Linked DNA regions of Homo sapiens: regions 2 and 3 are each linked to region 1. The links are contacts of gene promoters, found by promoter capture Hi-C in human tissues and cell types (Jung and others, 2019). All regions are on one chromosome and are shown on one strand. Each heading gives the region's core, a stretch centred on a gene start or on the middle of the fragment in contact. The rest is flanking DNA. Distances are from core to core; before and after follow the strand shown. Region 1 holds the start of MYT1L (myelin transcription factor 1 like). Region 2 has its middle 38 kb from the start of MYT1L. Region 3 overlaps MYT1L (myelin transcription factor 1 like).

What was found. The method cuts DNA at HindIII sites, captures the fragments that hold promoters and counts their contacts. A contact is called where the count stands out against the background at its distance.
Region 2: a contact is called between a fragment that was not itself captured here and the fragment with the promoter of MYT1L in region 1, in 1 of the 25 tissues and cell types used here (adrenal gland).
Region 3: a contact is called between a fragment that was not itself captured here and the fragment with the promoter of MYT1L in region 1, in 3 of the 25 tissues and cell types used here (bladder, pancreas and small bowel).

The regions. Positions count from the first base shown.
Region 1 is chr2:2,330,004-2,332,820 of GRCh38, forward strand. MYT1L (myelin transcription factor 1 like) reads right to left here and starts at 1,272. Exons shown (of 25, transcript NM_001303052.2): 1 at 964-1,272. The HindIII fragment of the contact is 11,173 bases long and covers 1-2,817 here.
Region 2 is chr2:2,367,921-2,370,620 of GRCh38, forward strand. No RefSeq gene overlaps it. Among named protein-coding and RNA genes, the nearest start is that of MYT1L, 38 kb to the left of the region's middle. The HindIII fragment of the contact is 5,646 bases long and covers 1-2,700 here.
Region 3 is chr2:2,281,045-2,283,782 of GRCh38, forward strand. All of the region lies in intron 2 of MYT1L (myelin transcription factor 1 like), which reads right to left. Among named protein-coding and RNA genes, the nearest start is that of MYT1L-AS1, 37 kb to the right of the region's middle. The HindIII fragment of the contact is 6,870 bases long and covers 1-2,738 here.

The sequences.
Region 1 (2,817 bases), core at 22-2,521:
CTCTTTTCTTTTAAAAATAATTACATTTTTATCTGTATGGGAGACATGACTTTATTATTTTTAAAGCTACATGACACTAAATGAAGATGAACAATTAGAAAGACCCTCATATGCCAGTAAGGGTGGTTTTGGGATGCTTTGGTCTATGACGTTAATTTTGTTTAGTAGAAAATATAAACATTTGAACAAAAAGGCTCTTATATAAAATAGTTTTACTCTAAGTAACTTAGAAATTATTTAGCTTATATAGCTTTGATGGTACAAGAAATTGTCATGGTTAATACTAAATTCAAAATCTGTTCTCTATATTTTATATAGCTAACTTTCATATAAATATTTACATATATATTTTTGCTTTATTCAGATCTATCTTAAAACTAAAGTGTAGAGTTTAATCTTTTAGTTTATTAATTTAGGTGTTACAAAAAGACATATTTCTGTTATAAATAACATTTTCTTTCATTATTATGAACTTCAAACATTTAAGTTAAATTTAAAAATCTTTATTTGAGTTTCTCCACTTAAACAATATAAATCAACTTTCTTCTTACCATCAGGTAAATTCATCCAAAATAGCTAACATTTTAATTGCCTTTGCATAAAATGATGTGCTTCATTTGTAATGTAAAGTAATCCAGTAAAGTCTCTGGGAAGTTTTTGTTTCAGTATCCTCTTATCCTCCAAACACCATACATGCACCCCGTTTTGTTTTTGTTTCTTTTTTTCTTAATAAACAACATCACAGTTAAGTCATGCAACCTAATACCCATTTTAGTTTAAAGACAGATTTTTTTGTGGATTACAAAGCCTCCAGTCCAGGAACATTTCAGCTACCAGCCATGCTGTAAAAATAACTTTAAAAAGGAGCAGACAATGGAATAGCAGCCTCAGCCCTTGAGCTACGGTAAAACACATCCTGCTCACTAAGTTCCCCGAAAAATTAACCTAACGAACATCACGTACCTCACAATGACCACAACCGCTCACAAGCGAAAGACAAGTTCAATTTTGGTAACTGTGCTGGCTCAAAATACACAGACAGGGAAGAAAACCCTGTTCCACCACAAGTTTGAAAGGATGATGAGACACATGCATGCCACCAAGACGCAGAAAAGGTGGCTTTTTGTCTTCAGTGAGTATGGATATCATAACCCATAGTCCAGGGAATGAAAAAATTAAAATGCACCCACCAACAATGAGCAAAAAACCCGGGGTGCTTCAACAAGACTGCAGGGAAAAGCTCTCTCACTGTTTAGTGTGCAGTAGCTTAGGGAAAAAAAAAATGTCGCCCGGGCAGGAATGACAAATGCAGCGCGATAGGCTCGCAGGCCTCAGGGATCTGTTTGACTTCCACACACCCCCATGCACACGCTCCCACTCATCCTCTCCTAGGCTTTTTTTTTTTTCCACATTTTTTTTTCACAAGCTCCAAATCCCCGGCATATGACCTTCTGTTAAATAGATAAAAAAAAAAATTGCTTATCAGTCATGCAAATGAGGCTGAATTCATTTTCCACAACAGATGGCCTCATAGATAATGATGATGGAAGAGAGAAAATTGAATGTCTCTCACAAGGTGGCCATGGCAACCGAGAGCAGAATAATATCAATAATAAACTCACTGCATAATAAGGTTGTCAGTCCTACAAATCAAAGTCTCCAGCTAAATCAGGTATACCACCCCAGCTAGTTACCAGGTAAATAGTACACACACACACACACACACACACACACACACACACTTCCACAGAGTGGCTTGAAATCTTTCATGGTCACTGTAAAATGTGTACGTGTGTGTGTCTGTTGGTGGCAAGAAGGGGTTGGGGGAGAGAATAGTTGGATAATGAAATGACAATGTGACTTTTTTCTTTTCCTTTCCTTTCATTATGTTTTCTGCAATAGACTCGGTTTCATGCAGGACCTTCTAACTAGCCATATTGAAATCGGGATGCGGTGCTGAAGGCTTTCTCTCCTCCCTCTGCCTCCGCGCTCTCGCTCTGATGTGCTGCATTGATGCAATAGCAGCTCGCCTCAGGCTTCCACCTTGGCTCCCAGGGGGACATCCTGCAAAATGAATCAGCAGCCATCCTGAGCAGGCTGATTAAAATGAAAATGGCAAGGCACATGTCTGGGCGGAACTGGAGCTCAGCTTTGCTGCTTGTCTGGCAAGCATGCTCAATATAGCTCTTGCTAATAATGGCTTACTGCCTTTCATTTTTTAAAAAGGTATCACCCTTTTCCCCCTTCACTGACTGGTGTTGTCTGTGTGTGTGTGTGTGGTGTGTGTGTGTGTGTGCACGTATGTGTGCGTGCATGTCGCGGGGGGAAACGAGAATGGATGGTTCTATTCTTCTAATTTTCTGCTGCTCACATGCAGACTGCCTGCCTGACAGCACCATTATTTTAACACTGAACTTACTTCAGCTTTTCTTTTGGGACAGGGTGGGGGGGCGGTTGATAAGTCTTGGGGCAGAAGGGCTAGTTTTAAAATCAAGCTGCCTAAAAGGCCCAGACAAGATTTTTACACTCCAGATTCAATAATTTCTAACCAAATCTGAAGCAACAGACCTCGAGAGAACTCCGATGCTCTGCTTCACAGGCTCACAGTTGGACATGCTGAAACACAGCCTATGAAGAAACCTATTTCTGTTTCGAGCATTTGCAACCAGCCTGTTACTGTATCCTAGATATTATGCAACACAGAGAATTAAAACAGAGAAAGCTACTAGCTAATAAAATAATCGAACACAATTGAAAAAATAAATCTTGGATATTTTGTTGTTTAAAATTCTCAGGCATAGCTTCAAGATTGCCCTC
Region 2 (2,700 bases), core at 64-2,563, 38 kb after region 1:
TATTCACAATTATTGACCAAAATTAATGGTACCGTAACAAAAGAAAAATAGTACAATGGTCAGTCTATAAATAGGAAGGCTGTAATGGGGTATAGTCACATAAATCAATTGATGCTAGAGTTGTGTTGGTGTCTCCCAGAACCTGCTGTTTCTAGATCAAACCAGTACAGACAAAAGCAAAACAAATAAACAAACAAACAAGGGCAGGGCTTTTAGATCATGTAGTTTTTTGTTTATAAAAAAATCAAAAAATTATTGGGAAGAAGTAATTATAGGGGAAGAGAGGGAAGCAAAACTACTTCCCTTCACAAAACTTTTGTGAATAAAATTGTCAATTTCTACATCAAACTATTTGTTAAGTATCAGCTGACTTGGTGATCATAGACCATAGGAAAGAAGAAAACAAACAAAAAAATCCCTAAGTAATTACAGACAAAAAGTTATAGACAGGATGTCTGGGCTGCGATGGACCTTTTGGATTTTAGGCTTGAGAGTGAATGAAGCTTACCAGGTTTATGCACCAAGATCTATCTTGTGCTTATTATTAGGGGGTTCAACTCAAGACTTGTCATTTCACAGAGGTCTGAGTCATATACAAACATGAACATCAAAATTTAAAGCAACAACTGAGCTCCCGTGAGTTTAGAGGCTTTGGCTTTGGCCCAATCCTGTGGCTTCTACTCCGCTTTTAAACTATTTTTAACTCTGTTATAAAAGACAGTGCACTAGGAAGCAATGCTGCAAGCGAGGGTCCGCTTAAAATACTAAAGGAAGTGCTAGACATGCCATCTGGAAAATCCAAAGGGCAAAAAGAAAAGAGAGAACGACAAAGGAATGGGAAGTGGGTAGTAGACCTGCAGTACGGAGATGGGACAGGTGGCCAGGGGAATATGGGATGATAAACACCTTCAATCATTGAACTTCTCATAAAGAAAGACACTGTGCTAATAATACATGCAAAAGGAAGTCAGACAAAAGAGAACTTTTTCTCTCTCTCTCTCTCTCCGTCTCTGTCTTTCTCTCTCTCTCTCACACACACACATAACAATACTGTATGTGGCTTGACTTTATGTAGGAAGTAGGTACTCACTGGCAAAGAAATTCTCATTACTGCCATAACGAAATTTTCATGCTTCTGGGATGTATGTGATTCAGACTAGTCTGCAAATTACTTAAATAATTTTACCTATCAACGTTGGGTCTGTCACTCATATAAAGGGAAAGCAAAACCATATCATCTGGTGCACTTTACAGCTCAATGTCACCTGCCATATTTTCAATCATCTTGCATGCACAATTGGCAGTAGGCTATTAGAAGCAACCCTCCAAAAAGAAATCCTATTTTTTATTAAAAAAACTTTATTTTTTAGAGTAGTTTTAGGTTCAGAGCAAAATTGAGAAGCAGATACAGATATAACCCATATACTCTCATCCCCTCCCCATTATCAACGTGTCCCACCAAGAAGGCTCACTTGTTGCTATCAATGAACCCAAATTGACTGAGTCCCAAGTTCACTTTAGGGTTCATTCTTGGTGTTGTACATTCTGTGGGTTTAGACAAATGTATGGTGACATGTACTGACATGTTTGGTTGTGTCCCTACCCAAATCTCATATTGAATTGTAGCTCCCATAATTCCCATGTGTCATGGAAGGGACCCAGTGGGAGGTAACTGAATCATGGGGGCAGGTCTTTACCATGCTGTTCTTGTGGTAGTGAATAAGTCTCACAAGATCTGATGGTTTTATAAAGGGGAGCCTCCCTGCACTCTCCTGTTGCCATGTAAGATGTCTTTGCTCCTCATTCGCCTCCCACCACGTTTGTGAGGCCTCCCCAACCATGTGGAACTGTGGGTCCCTTAAACCTCTTTCCTTTATAAATTACCCAGTCTTGGGTATGTCTTTATTAGCAACATGAGAACAGACTAATACATGTATCCACCATTGTAGTGTCATACTGAATATTTTCACTGCCCTAAAAATTCTTAGCCGTTAACCCAACCCTAAAGAAACACTGAGTGTTTTACTGTCTCCACAGTTTTGCCTTTCCCACAATACTGTATAGTTGGAATGAGATAGTATTGTAGCTTTCTTAGTTGGGCTTCTTTCACTTGGTAATACGCATCTTAGGATCCTCCATGTTTTTTCATGGCTCGACAGCTTATTTCATTTTACTGCTGAATAATATTGCCTTGTCTGGATGCATCACAGTTTGTTTATCCATTCACCTACTGAAGGACGTCTTGGTTGCTTCTAAGTTTTAGAAATTATGAACAAAGCTGCCTTAAATGTCCATGTGCAGCTTTTGTGGGAACATATCCTATCCTATGTTAATTTCATTTTCCTTTGATTTGGGTAAAGTCCTAAGCAAGTAACAAGGCTTTTCACCGAGTCCTGAAGTTTAAAGTAAGCCCCGTGTCAACAGTAGTCTTCTGATTACTAGGCAAACAGCATCACAACCTCCTGATTTTTGATAGGTCGTGAAAACTCAGATGGGTAGCACAAACTTTTTCAAATCTTTCAGAATTTTTTCATACTTCACTGTATTATAACTTGGATCAAATAAAATAACTGTTTGCAATATCAGAAATCAAATATTATTATCTGGAAGGATTCTGGCATTACAATCAGTATTTCAGGTGAACCATAGACCTAGACAAAATATCAGATATAAAAAGATAAAAATCAGTGCCAATAAAGC
Region 3 (2,738 bases), core at 183-2,682, 49 kb before region 1:
GTAGTTCCCATAATCCCCACATGTTGTGGGATGGACCTGGTGGGAGGTAATTGAATCATGGGGGTGGTTACCCCACACCGTTCTCATGTTAGTAAGTAAATTCTCATGAGATCAGATGGCTTTATCAGGGGCTTTCCCTGCTTTGCTCAGCACTTCTCCTTCCTGTGAAGAAGATGCCTTTCTTCAGCTTTGCCTTCTGCCGTGATTGCAAGTTTCCTGAGACCTCCCAAGCCATGCAGAACTGTGAGTCAATTAAACCTCTTTTCTTTATAAATCATCGGGTATTTCTTCATGGCAGTGTGAGAATGAACTAGTACACGTGGCATGACTTTTCATGTCATAACTAGTAATAGTGTGGGGCAAATGACTTTTGTTTTCTTTTTAATATAATTGTTGTGTAATATGTACAGAAGTGGGAAGAGTAAATGCTTGTGTCTTCCTGATTGATTGTAAAATTCTTCCCAACTAGCTCATGTAAGTGGTCAACAACTGAGGCCAAAATGTGTTGCTTTATAGAGATTTAGCAGACTTATATTAATGATCCAATTACCTTGAATGGCGTGAACTTAACTTGTGTATTTAGAAAAACAATAATCAAATATTGAAAATACTGTCATATGAAATAGAAATTAGCCCATAGAACCTAGAACATGTTCTGAACATAGTAGATCATTAAAATACATCCATTAAGTTGAATTGAATTAGACATAGTCTGTATCTCTCCAGAGGCTGAAAGTAAAAACAACAGGTGCCTATTATAAAACTGAATAATATGCAAACCCTTGACACAATCCAACAATGGAATGAGTTGCCTTGTTGAGTTGTAAGCTATCTGTTCCTGGAAATATTCAAGAAGCAATAAAAAGGCTACTTTTTAGCGGTAGGTGGCATGGGGGCAGAAATGTTTCTGTAGTGCACTCTGGCGTTTAGTATAACGAACACAATCCTAGCTTTCTTTAATGGTAGTGGATCTCGAAATTCTCAGAGTTACACATCAGAAACAATAATGGTCGCTATATTAAATTGCTCATACTGAGATCTTATTTTTAAAGTAAATGTATTGTAATGCTTTTCATACCATGTATCAGAGACTCAATATAAGCGTGGATTCTGCAACTAAAAGGTGGACTTCTCAAAATCTGGATCATGTTCTATCATTTACATATCACCACTGCCTCACACAGTGTATTGCACGTAGTAGGCACTTCATACATTGATTTAATATATGAACAAAAGAACAGAAGTGTCAGCTTTTTAACTGAGTTTATGAAAATTTAGAAGATATTTTGAAATACATTTTTAGCCTTTACAAAACTAAATTTGTGCTATGAGATTAGTTTTTTCTTAAGGTTGAATTTATGAATTTATGACACTGCTATGTGTAATGGCAGACCGTTCAAACACTGGATGGTTAGCTGTGTTTTCAATAGCAGAGAACATGCAGTGATAGGACCACACATAAAATGAAGCAGGATTGTAAAGATAATGCCCTTCTCAAAAGCTTCAAAATGTATATAGTCTTGAGTCAAGCAATTCTACTGTGAATTTATCTTAAGAAAATCATTAACAGTGTGAAAGGTTTTAGGTAAAGAATGGTTATTAAAACCATGTTTATAAGGCAAAATTTTAAAAATCCAACTTATGAAATTACAATAGAGAATTGATGAAGTATATTTCAGTGTATTCATAAAGTAGAATGCTAGATGAGGTAACGGAATAAAATAAGGTAACAGAAAAGTAGTTCTTCAGGCTGGGCACAGTGGTTCACACCTGTAATCCCAGCACTTTGGGAAACCGAGGTGGGCAGACCACTTGAGGTCAGGAGTTGGAGACCAGCCTGGCCAACATGGTGAAACCCCGTCTTTACTAAAAATAGAAAAATTAGCCAGGTGTGGTGGCATGTGCCAGTAACCCTAGCCACTTGGGAGGCTGAGGCAGGAGAATACCTTGAACCCCGGAGGGAGAGGTTACGGTGAGCCAAGATTGTGCCACTGCACTCCAGCCTGGGTGACAGAGCCAGACTCCATCCCCCCCAACACAAAAAGTAGTTCTTCATACAGAAAGATACATACGATGCATAAGGGAAAAAGGAGTAAAGAACAAACGGCACAGTTTGACCCATGTTAATTTAAAATCTTTTTGAAGACTGTCAAAGAAATCAGTCTTGAAGAATTTTAAACCAACATACTAATGGTGGTTGTCACTGAATTTTTGAATTTCCAGTGCTTTAAAAATTATATTATCTATTATTTTAATATTCTAATGTTTCTACAATGGACATACACTAATTATGTAAAGAAAATAGAAGTTTAAAAACTTGGTCTCTCTGGCAGTTTGACGTTAATGCAAAGAACGACATTGAGAGGATAAGTTTCTAAAGATATTGACACCAAAAGTAAGAGAGTACAGAGATGATGCCTTGAAAAGTATAATTTTTGAACCATTAAAAATTAGTTGTGTAGCAAATAGAGGACATTGGGTCCAACAGATTGGTTTATTTCTCAGTCTTGCTGGAAATTAAATTTGTAGCACTTCTCAATTCCACCCACTCATAATTGGAAGAGAAAGTGAAGGCCACAGAAGCTGAGAGTCTGCTTCAAAGTCCCCAGGCAGTAAGGGCTGCTCAGACCTCAAACCTACACGTGGTCAGGCAATGCTACTCTTTCATGCAGCTGAAAATTTACACAGTTATGTCCAAGACAGATTTCAAAAGGGATACAAATGATTCCCAAGGATGT